Linked DNA regions of Homo sapiens: all the other regions are linked to region 1. Evidence: promoter capture Hi-C in human tissues and cell types (Jung and others, 2019). All regions are on one chromosome and are shown on one strand. Each heading gives the region's core, a stretch centred on a gene start or on the middle of the fragment in contact. The rest is flanking DNA. Distances are from core to core; before and after follow the strand shown.

Region 1 (2,700 bases), core at 111-2,610:
GCTGGGACTACAGGTGCACGCCACCATGCCTGGCTAACTTTTTTTATTATTTGCAGAGACGAGGTCTCACTATGTTGCCCAGGCTGGTCTCAAACTCCTGGGCTCAGGCGATCCTCCTGCCTTGGCTTCCCAAAGTGCTGGGATTACAGCTGTGAGCCAATGCACCCAGCCTCAACTGCCACTTCTGACCTTGGCTTCCCCCGGGCTGGGCCACAGCTCTTCTGTGGCAGCTCTGCTCTTCCTACCAGCGTTTCCTTGTCACCTTGACACACCCATTCCCTCCCTGCCCGCTCCCTGCTCAGAATCCTCTCTGTAGCCCCTTCAAGAGAACTCAAGGTTCTCTTGAACTACAAACTCCAGCAGGGGGTCCCTGGAGCCCAGGTTAAGGCTGCCGGCAGTCGCATACGGATCCCCAGGGGAAGGGGCGCCCTCCTCACTCAAAGCTCACCTGTTCAGGTGAGAGCCTCAAAGCGCCACTCTACAGCTCCCCTGGTTAGGTCAGTTCTCCCCACAGCCAAGGCCCAGCGTGTCCACCAATCGTCCAGCCGGAACAAACTAAGACACACTTTCTTTGGCAAGATAGAATTTTCCACTTCTCGCCAAATCCCACAGCGCAAACCCCGCCCGTCAGCATGGAGGGCAGACTGGGTCTCCGCACTGTCATGTGAAGGTGTCCAAAGCCGCCCCAGCTGGAGAAAGGCCGGAGACCGAAGTCCCTCCCGCGGGCTTCCTGCGTCCGGGGATTAGGAGGCACAAAGGGCCGGCAGGGACACAGCCCAGATGGCAGGGGCAGGGGCTAAGCCGCCGGGGCACCGCGCTCCGGCCGCCGCCCGTGGGGAGGGGGTCACCGCAGACGCGCGTCGCCAACCCCGCTGGCCTGGCGCCTGCACGTGGGCCCGGGGACTCCGTCTCTGCCCGCGGTGCCCCCCGCACCCAGCCGGCCGGGGCACCTGTTCTCCTGCTCTCCTAAGCCAACATTATTGTGCAAACCCAAGCCCAAGTTTCAGTCATCGCGCAGATCAGGCAGAGAAGTTTCCCGCAGAACTTTCTACAGGTGTCTCTCTTCCAGGCCAGCACAGCGACGCGGACAGGGGCGAGGCGCGCGGACCTGGGCGCAGCCCTCCCGCCCTGGCCCGACAGCCCAGGGGTCCTGGGCCTCCCTGGCCTCCCCGCCCCAGGTGGAAGCCCCGAGGGGGCGGGCCCGGCTGGGCGAGTCCGGCACGCATCTCACCTGGAACCCCGGGCCAGCCCCCGCCCGAGGCCTCGGCGTCCCTCGGCGCCCGCCGCCGGCCCCGCTCGCTCCGCCGCGCCTGCCCACGGGCTGCTGGGCGGCCGTCTCCTTCCTGCTCACCTCCGGCGCGGCGAGCCTGGGGCGGAGCCGCGCTATTTACATAAAGGGCGAGCCTGCCGGGGCCCAGCGCCCCGCCCCCGGCCCGCCCCCCAGCTCGGCGCCGCAGGGGCGGGGGCACCCTCGGGGGTGGGGGCTGCGCTCCTGCCAATCCGCGGCCCCGGGAAGCGCGGGGCGGGGCCTCGCGAACGGCCTCGGGGTTCCGCAGGCCCGCCCCGGCCTCACCTGCGCGCACCTGGACGCAGAACGGCGCGCCGCGCCCAGTGTCCCGCCGCCTCCCGCAAGCGGAAATAGTTCCCGGAACGCCTGCGGTCCCGGGCCGCCTCCCAGACTCCAGGGGAGCCGTCCCTCCAACTCCCGGGAGCTGCCGAGGGAGGGGCGGATCCGGGCCAGCTCCTCTGCCAGAGCCCAGCCCAGAGAGGGTGACCGGGGGACGCAGGGCCGGGTTTCCAGCCCCACGAGAGGGATGGTGTAGGGACCGGGGCGTCGCGGCGAGACGCCTTTCCTCGGGGGGGGGTGCGGGGGGGCGCCCACCTCCTCCGTGTCGGCCGGAGGGTCTGCAACAGCGGGTGGAATTTTTAGCACAAGCGAGGGAGGAGGTTGGAGCGACGAGAGGCGGGAGCGGAAAGGGCGCGGAGGCCGGGGCTGCAGCGCGCTCCACCGCCCAGCTGCAGGTGGCGCCTCTCGCCACCCGCACCCCGCTGCGCCCAGGGAAGGGCCGATGGCGCGCCGTCCTCCCTCCTCCCTTCGGGAAGCCTGCGACGTCCCATCCCCTCCGACGCAGGCCCGGGAAAGGCTCAAAAGGTTCGAGGTCGCGTTCCTGCTATCCCGCGGGCTTCTCTCACTCTTAGATCCCGCACCAGAGGAAGCGGATCTCCTTGAGTGGGCAAAGCAGGGGTGAGGGGCTGGGGGCAGTTCCACTGACAACGGGACGGGGGCGAGAGGGGTTTACCCAGTACATACAGAAACAGCAGAAAAGAAATCTATTTTTAATGGCTTTGGCTTTATAGCACGAAGCAGGCACCCTCTCGTTAAAGGCACACAGTCCTCTCTTCTGCCCCACCTCCTGGGTCCTTAAAATCGAGTCCTGAGTTCCAGAGGGGTCACTGCAAGGCAGCAGGGAAGGGAGAGGGTCACAGTTTCACTCTGTGAGTATCAGACACCCAGGGCCAAGGCCCAGACTGGCCTCTGAAGCTACAGGTTAGAGTCTGGGTACAGGAGGCAGCCGAGATGGTCCCTGAGAACAGACAGTCCCGGTCCCCCGGAGCAAGCTCCATCCTCTGCAGAGCTGTGAGGTCAGTGCCCCACATCCTGGGGCAACGTGAAGTCCCTGAAGCTGTAGAAGGAGATGT
Region 2 (2,700 bases), core at 117-2,616, 180 kb before region 1:
AATGAAAGTCTAGAAGGATTAAAAACCTTGACCCAACTCACGAGGCTGGTAAGTGGGGCAGCAGTTTTGGCCTGGGGTTGCCCAACTTCTAAGCCTATGTTCATTCTCCAGGCCCCCTACCTCTGCGGCCCCGCAGGAGACAGTCATTACTGCTTTAACTGGACAGATGAATGGCAGCGCCAGGGCTGCCCAGAGGAAAGCGGGGAGGGGAAAGACCTGCCAAACCCTACCCCGCCGACAGAGCACGAGACGGGGGACAGGCCAGGAGTTTGCTTCTCTCCTTGGTCTACAACAAAAAAAAATTGGATTTAGCCAACAAAAAACACTGGCAGGAACTTTACAGTTTATAAAGCTTTTGCATAAGTCACCTCTGGTTCTTCCCAACCATCTTACGACGCTTTATTACTGTGATTTCAGAGAAGAAACAGGCTTACAGAGGTTAAGGGCTTGAGACCACTCAACTGGTTTTAAGTGGAATCCAGACCAGAGGTGCCGGCTCCACGTCTACTGCCCTTTCCACGGTGCCATGCTGCCTCCCACAAAACATCCACAGTGCCCTTGGCCAATGAGGGGCCGCCATCGGAGGTCACAGGAAGCCTTTTCACAGTCCCTCTGGGGCATGAGTGGGGAGCAGCTCTTCTCCCCAGAGCTTTAAAGCCCCATCGAGGAAGGGGTGAGAACTGACCTCCTGAAGTGCCCGAGTGTGTGTGTACGGGGAGAGTGGACTCAATTTTTATTTTTGAAACCTCATGCACAGAGTTCCTTATATTCCCCAGGTCCCACAAGAGTACCAGGTGCCATTTCAGAACCACCTTTCTAAACCTCTGCCCACCCACTGAAAGCAACACGGCCCTTCACAGCCTGGCTTCCTTCTTTTGACACACAGCCCTTCCGCTCCAGTGGAGAATCGCCAAAGATCATGAAGGGTAAATAGTCTCCTCTGAACCCCTGGTCTGGGAAACCCGTTTCAACCCCGGGGGGAGCCCAGTGGCCACTGGTGCTGCCCAGGGGCTGCTGTGGGGCAGAGATAACACACAGAGGAAGGGTGGGGTGGCAGGAGCCCTCCCAGGAGCAGGGCTTGCCTGTAAACAATGAGCTGCCGCCTCGCCAAGGCAGGAGGTGATTCATCTCCCCCGCTGCTCAGCTCCTGCTGGCTGCGCTCACCGGGCACCAAAGGACTGGGGCAGCCCTGGCCAGGCGCTGACGCCTCCCCACTCTCTGCACAGGTCAGGATCTCACCCCAGCCCTTCTGGAAACTGGCTTGACTTCAAAAGCCTTCCTGGGTGTGTCCAAAAAGTGATCTGGTCTGGGGAGTGCTCAAGTGCACTCAAGGGAGCACAGCTCCACCATCACCCGAGAACTGGCTGGGTTTTGGGATCAAGGCGGCAGATGGGGCATACGTGGGGCTCGGGGACTCCCGCCTGTCCATGCCCAGAGGCATACACGGATAACAACGGTGACTTCTTGGGTCACCCCTCTGAACAGCGTCCCAGGCCTCCATCACCCTGTTGTCAACCCTGAGGCAATAGTCCCAACCAAGACTATTGAGTCTTGGGGGACATGTGAGCTGAAGCATTTGCCTGCAAACAGAATGCAGGAGAGGCCAGTGCATCTGAGATGCCAAGAGGTAAGAATACGGCACTTTTAATAGGCGGCAGACCCCAGGTGGTGCGTGGACAGACCCTGTCCACAGCGCCTGGCTCCCGTGCTGCCTGTCCTTCCATCTGGAATGCCAAACAGAAGCTCCTCTCAGGTGGCATCTGGGGAGTAGGTCCCAGTCCTGAAATATACAAAGTGGCGCCTCCCACTGGGCAGTGGTCACTGGGCTGCACGGTCCTTTCAAGTCCTAGGGTGGCCCCTCAGGTCACTGCTTGGCCTTCTTCACAATGGTGCCCACAGCAGAGATGACGGTGGTCTTGGAGCCGCTGGCGCTGGTGGTGACCGTGACAACAGCTGGCAGGGTGGCTGTGGTGGTGAGGATGGTGGGCTGGGCTATCGTTGTCACTGGGATAGCCGAATCCCACTTGCTCTTTCTCTTCTGAGCATCTGGAGATAAAGCAGAAATCAGGATCACGATCCACCAATGAGCGGTGCCCTCTTTCCCTTCCCCCTGCAGGCCAGCGGGAGTCTAGGGAGCAGACCCCGAAGTGGCCCACCCCAGACTCCAAAGGTGCTTCTCAAAGTAGCAAGGCTGAGCCCAGGCCCAGATCCACGTGCTGTCTGTCGCCCAAACAAGCCAGGGAGACCCTGGCTCCATGTGTGTGGCAGGAGGCAGGGCAGCTCTGCAATCTACCTGCAACAGCTGTGCTGGCAGTGGTAGTGGTGGTGGACGTGGCGTTGGTCGTGGTGCCTTTTTTGGTGCCCGTCACAAACTCAATCTGGAGAGGGAGAGGGAAGAGAATAAGACCAGGCAAAGCTGGGTGTCCACAGCTTTTTGCCATCCGTCAGCTCCTGGGGGACAGGAGCTTGGCACTACACAAAAGAGGCATTGGAAATGAACTCTGCTCTGCCCATCTGGGGTAGGGCGAGATGTCTAAGAAGAACCCAAAGGGGCTTTTCACTCTTAAAAGAACTTTCCAAACAGTACTGTATCCCTCCCGGCATCACCAGGTCTCTGCACATGCCCGGCACCCCCCGCCCACCGCCCCACCTCACATGCCCAGAACCGTTTGGCCAGGCCCCTCCTCCTCACACCCAGGA
Region 3 (2,700 bases), core at 189-2,688, 150 kb after region 1:
GCTGTGGACTAGAAGTAGAATTGGGATGAGGTGTTCCCGTTCTCATGAGTCCCTTCCCTGTCTGCACTGTTCCCTTTCCTTGTGAACCTTTATTTCCCAAACCCCTTCTTCACCTTTTCCACCTCCAGCCTGTGCAGAGGCAGATAGATACTGGGGACCTGTTGTACTTTGTTCTGCATCTTCACTAGTGGAAATAAGAGTTCTCTTAGGCTCACTGCTCGGGGGTGGCCTGTAAGATGTTCTTGAGTCTAGTGCTTTCTCTTTTAATTTGGGTGCCTTGTGTCATTGGATGTGTAATGTGGTCTCGAGCTAAATGTGCAGACAGCAGCATCTGAGACATATCCAGAGAGCAGAGGCAGCATTTCTTTGAATTCAGCAAAACCATAATTATTGTGTTTTCTTTTCAGAACTGTGTTTTACGCAAATAATCTTCGGCAAAGTCTTACTCTTATTGTAGATACTCATTTTAATTCTGTGTGTTAACTTGCACCACAGTTTTGCATAATTTACTATCCTCCTCCAGAAAGCTCTACAGTGTTCCATTGGTCAACGCTTTTGCCAGTAATGTCAGAAATAATGGGTTGGGTGATCTTACTTTCTATATTTAAACAAAATTTTGTCAATTTTCAGTTAGTTGCTTGTTTTCCCTGACCACTGGGCTATCTCGTATTTCTGGTCTTCAGTCATGTTGTTCCTTTTGTGTGGTGTAACCTTTAGCATTTACGTGCCTTGGCCACCTCTCGTTGCTTAGAACAGACCCAATCTCCAGAAGGTTTTCTGGGTGTTCTTCTTTTCCCTCGGGTTCCCCTTTGCTGCCCCGAGCACCATTGTGTACCTCTTGCCACAGTGTGCTTTTGTTACTCCATTTCACAGTAGGTTCCTCTATCAGCATCTTGCACAGTTGCCTAGCAACATAGTTTAATGTGTTGGAGGCAAGAAGGGAGGAAATTCACACCATGTTCATCCTACTCAGTGTGAACTGAGTCTATAGTTGATATCCTCTTTGTGTCACTCAATGTTGTCCTGCCTGAGTTCAGGCTTGGTTCTTACGTTGCGGCAGCTCTTTTGCCTTTATTTAGGCAACAGACCAGAAATAGAAACCCTTGAATTTTTTTTTTTTTATTCCTTTATTTTCCTTGCCAGCACCTTGGTTAGATTTCTTAACTACTTTTTTCTTGAGTCTTTGTAAAGTATAATTACACTTTACTGTGCTTACGATCTAAAGAATACTTAATCAGTGTTATTTTTTATTTTTATGTTTTATTTTTGTATTGATTAGGTCTTGCCATGTTGCCCAGACTGGTCTCGGACTCCTGGACTCAAGCAGTCCTCCCACCTTGGCCTCCCAAAGTGCTGGGATTACAGGCATGGGCCACCACACTTGGCCTCACTTTTATTTCTTAAAGTCACTGCCCAATAAACATTCCAAGTTTCCACTAGTTTTTGTTTTTGGACATTTGTTCCATCCAACATCGTGGTGGCATTATATTTTAGTAGATTGTCCAAACATGGGTAAGAAAGATCAACTATGAAAGGAGGTGTCGAACACATTGGCTTTCCCACCTGAATTTGTTCTTTATTCTTTGGATGTATAAAAAACAAGAATAAAACTCACAGGGAGAGTTTGAAGGAACTGTGAAGATTCGTTCTAATTTACATAGTTTACACAACCCATAGCCCTAGGGAAAGTGCCAAAGAACAGCTTTGCAGAGGACTGAAGTCCTCCTGGGAAGAAGAGTCCCTTCGCATCAGATGGCTCTCTTGAGTTTACTTTGCTGCTAAAAAAGTGAGCTGGATTGAGGGGAAGGTTTTCTATTTTTCAAGCTTTGCCAGAACACTTGGCTTAACAAACAGCTGTTTGAAGTCTTAATTGTGTCTCTGTATTTCCAGGGACGCGTTCTGACCTCTTATTAGCAACACAGCTAGGGCTGGCTGGCATGCTTTGTGGTGCCAAACATAGCTGTACCAGCCTGGAAGGTATCCAAACCGAACAAGATATTGAAGTCAGAAGGAACAAGTGGTACAAATTCTCTCTTAGTCAGAGTTTGGAAAGCCTTCGTATTGAAATTCATGCGGACAGATTTGACACACTTCTGAAAATTTTTTTCATCAACTGACATTTCAGTTCTTCCAGGCCTGGAATAGTGGGTTTCAGTCAACAAGGCACCAATATCTTTTTAAATTTGCCCATAGTAGCCAGCTTTTGGGGTGTATGAATATTAGTGGCAGCCTTGGAGCTTGAACGTTGCATCAATGACCTCTGTTAACAGCTAACCATATGATATCCACAAAATAATGAATTTACATTTCTCATGGGCCCTGGCTTTAGCCATTACCTCGAGAGTCAGTCTGAGCATCACTTTTAAGCATTCATTCATTGAGTGTCCCTGTCTCTTAGTACTGTGATGGTCCATGTTTTGAGTAAGTAATGCCATCCTTCAAGCAAAGGAACATATATATGCTTTGAGTTGTTTTTCTGGTAGTGGTAGGTACATTTGCATCAGAGTCAGTAAGTTCTTAAATACCATCAGCCATAGTCAAAAACAGTTTTTTTTTTTTGAGACGGAGTCTCTGTTGCCCAGGCTGGAGTGCAGTGGCACGATCTTGGCTCACTGCAGCCTCTGCCTCTCTGGTTCAAGCAATTATCCTGTCTCGGCCTCCTGAGTAGCTGGGGACTACAGGCATGCACCCCCACACCCG
Region 4 (2,700 bases), core at 29-2,528, 170 kb after region 1:
AGGTTGCAGTAAGCCGAGATCACGCCACTGTACTCCACACTCCAACCTAGGCGACAGAGCAAGACTCTGTCTCTTTAAAAAAAAAAAAAAAAAAAAAAGAAGAAAGGAAAATTAAGATACATCAATAGGAGAGAGGGATGTATATAGATGGATAGATATGTGACAGAGCAAATAACTTAGGTCAAACTTGTCCAGCCCCACAGCCCGCAGGCCACATGTGGCCCAGGATGGCTTTGAAGGCGGCCCAACACAAATTTGTGCTTTCTTAAAACATTATGAGATTTTTTTGCTTTTTTTTTTTTTTTTAAGCTCATCAGCTATCATTAGTGTTAGTGTATTTTATGTGTGGCTTAAGACCTTTTTTTTTTTCCAGTATGGCCCAGGGAAGCCAAAAGATTGGACATCCCCGATTTATGTGATGGATAAATGTATTCACTGTAAAATTCTTTTCACTTTGCTTTATGCTTGAAAGCTTTTATAACAAGATGTTTGGGGAGGAGGAGAGAACTGGGACAGAGAGTATAGACAACTGTTCCAGAAAGTTTTGATTTAAAGGGGAACAGAGAGATGAGGCAGTAGAGTCAAAAGAAGTCTGCTTTCACCCCACTCCCAGAGATGAGAGAAATGACAGCATTTTTATTTGTTGATTAGAAAAATCCAGTAGAGATTTTAATTAAAATTGATGATGCAGAAGAAAGGAAAATAACTGAGTTAATGTCCTTGAGCAGGCAAGAAGAGATGGGATTCAGCACCTTCGTAGAATTTTGTTTTGCTAGGAACAGGGACAAAAGTACGAGTACAGGTCCTGGCCAGGCGCGGTGGCTCACGCCTGTAATCCCAGCACTTTGGGAGGCCAAGGCAGGTGGATCACCTGAGGTCAGGAGTTCGAGACCAACCTGGCCTACATGGTGAAACCCCGTCTCTACTAAAAATACAAAAATTAGCCAGGCATGTTGGCATGTGCCTGTAATCCCAACTACTTGGGAGACTCCCGAAGTGCTGAGATTACAAGCATGAACTGTGCCCGGCCATAGATCTGTTTTTATTCACTATGGCTGGGTTCTCAGTGCGCCCTTCCTATCTGAAAATTCATATTCATCAGCTATGAGAAGTTAAGTTTTTCCTTTTTAAAAAACATTTCGTAGTGTCTTTTCTTCTATTTTCACTGTTCTCTTTCTGGAAGTTTGAATAATAGCTGTCACATCTTTTGGAAGACTGCAGTGGGCTCTTCCAGCAATTCTTGAATCCAGCAGTCCCCAACCTTTTTGCTACCAGGGACTGGTTTCATGGAAGACAATTTTTCCATGGAAGTGGGGGGTCGAGATGGTTCAGGATGACTGTTCAACCTCAGATCATCAGGCATTAGATTCTTACAAGGAGCGGGCAACCTAGATCCCTCGCGTGAGCAGTTTACAGTAGGGTTTGTGTTCCTACGAGAAGCACTGGCAATGTGGTGAAACCCCATCTCTACTAAAAATAGAAAAATTAGCCGGTTGTGGTGGCAGGCACCTGTAATCCCAGCTACTCAGGAGGCTGAGGCAGGAGAATCGCTTGAACATGGGAAGTGGAGGTTGTTGCAGTGAGCAGAGATCGCACCATTGCACTGCAGCCTGGGAGACAAGAGTGAAACTCCATCTCCCCCCCCCCCCCAAAAAAAAAGACCATGAATAAACTTTGCTTGTACAACTCTGAATACCAGAAAACAATGTCTCTTCCAAGTTCTGAGGGAAAATGCTGTTCAGCCCAGGATTCTGTTGAAATCTATACCCAGCCGAAATAGCCTTCAAGTATAAACATAGAATCAAGACATTTCCAGACATGCAAGGACTCAAAACATTTGCCCCTCACGCACCCTTTCGTTTTTGTTTTTTTTTTGAGACAGAGTCTCGCTCTGTCACCCAGGCTGGAGTACAGTGGTGTGATCTCGGCTCACTGCAACCTCCGCCTCCCGGGTCCAAGCAATTCTCCTGCCTCAGCCTCCCAAGTAGCTGGGATTACAGGCATGCACCACCATGCTTGGCTAATTTTTTGTATTTTTAGTAGAGACGGAGTTTCTCCATGTTGGCCAGGCTGGTCTTGAACTCCTGACCTCAGATGATCCGCCTGCCTCGGCCTCCCAAAGTGCTGGGATTACAGGCATGAGCCACTGTACCTGGCCAGAATTTTTTTTGTTGTTGCCCAGGCTGGAGTGCAGTGGCGCAGTCTCGGCTCACTGCAACCTCTGCCTCCCAGGTTCAAGCGATTCTCCTGCCTCAGCCTCCTGAGTAGCTGGGATTACAGGCATGTGCCACCACACCTGGCGAATTTTTGTGTTTTTAGTAGAGGCGGGGTTTCACCGTGTTGTCAGGCTGGTCTTGAACCCCTGACCTCATGATCTGCCTGCCTTGGCCTCCCAAAGTGCTGGAATTACAGGTGTGAGCCACCGCGCCCGGTAAAAATGGTTTTTTTTTTAAGGGCATAGAAACTCGAGGAAATACAGAAGCCCAACCAGTAAAGGAAGTACAGTTGACCCTTGAGCAACAGAGGTTTGAGCTGCATGGTTCCGCTTATACACGGATTTTTTTCAGTCTACATGTGTGTCAAAAAGACAGTATTCACAGGATGCACAGCCCACTTACGCAGAGGGCCAACTGTGGGACTTGAGTATGCACAGATTTGGGTATATGCAGGGGTCCTGGAACCAGTCCCCCATGAATACAA

What was found. The method cuts DNA at HindIII sites, captures the fragments that hold promoters and counts their contacts. A contact is called where the count stands out against the background at its distance.
Region 2: a contact is called between a fragment that was not itself captured here and the fragment with the promoter of LLGL2 in region 1, in 1 of the 25 tissues and cell types used here (lymphoblastoid cells).
Region 3: a fragment that was not itself captured here is called in contact with the fragment with the promoter of LLGL2 in region 1 in 1 of the 25 tissues and cell types used here (dorsolateral prefrontal cortex).
Region 4: a contact is called between a fragment that was not itself captured here and the fragment with the promoter of LLGL2 in region 1, in 1 of the 25 tissues and cell types used here (mesenchymal stem cells).

The regions. Positions count from the first base shown.
Region 1 is chr17:75,524,357-75,527,056 of GRCh38, reverse strand. LLGL2 (LLGL scribble cell polarity complex component 2) reads right to left here and starts at 1,360. Exons shown (of 26, transcript NM_001031803.2): 1 at 1,232-1,360. It overlaps TSEN54 (tRNA splicing endonuclease subunit 54), which reads right to left. Exons shown (of 11, transcript NM_207346.3): 11 at 2,322-2,700. The coding sequence ends at 2,645. RefSeq lists silencers at 1,654-1,838, 1,155-1,874, 1,895-1,994. The HindIII fragment of the contact is 8,139 bases long and covers 1-2,700 here.
Region 2 is chr17:75,705,686-75,708,385 of GRCh38, reverse strand. SAP30BP (SAP30 binding protein) reads right to left here. Exons shown (of 11, transcript NM_013260.8): 10 at 2,294-2,378; 11 at 327-2,046. The coding sequence ends at 1,865. Among named protein-coding and RNA genes, the nearest start is that of ITGB4, 14 kb to the left of the region's middle. RefSeq lists an enhancer at 796-1,995. The HindIII fragment of the contact is 8,365 bases long and covers 1-2,700 here.
Region 3 is chr17:75,369,715-75,372,414 of GRCh38, reverse strand. The region is part of intron 2 of GRB2 (growth factor receptor bound protein 2); the gene reads left to right. Among named protein-coding and RNA genes, the nearest start is that of GRB2, 35 kb to the left of the region's middle. The HindIII fragment of the contact is 4,452 bases long and covers 1-2,700 here.
Region 4 is chr17:75,353,215-75,355,914 of GRCh38, reverse strand. All of the region lies in intron 2 of GRB2 (growth factor receptor bound protein 2), which reads left to right. Among named protein-coding and RNA genes, the nearest start is that of GRB2, 51 kb to the left of the region's middle. The HindIII fragment of the contact is 7,881 bases long and covers 1-2,700 here.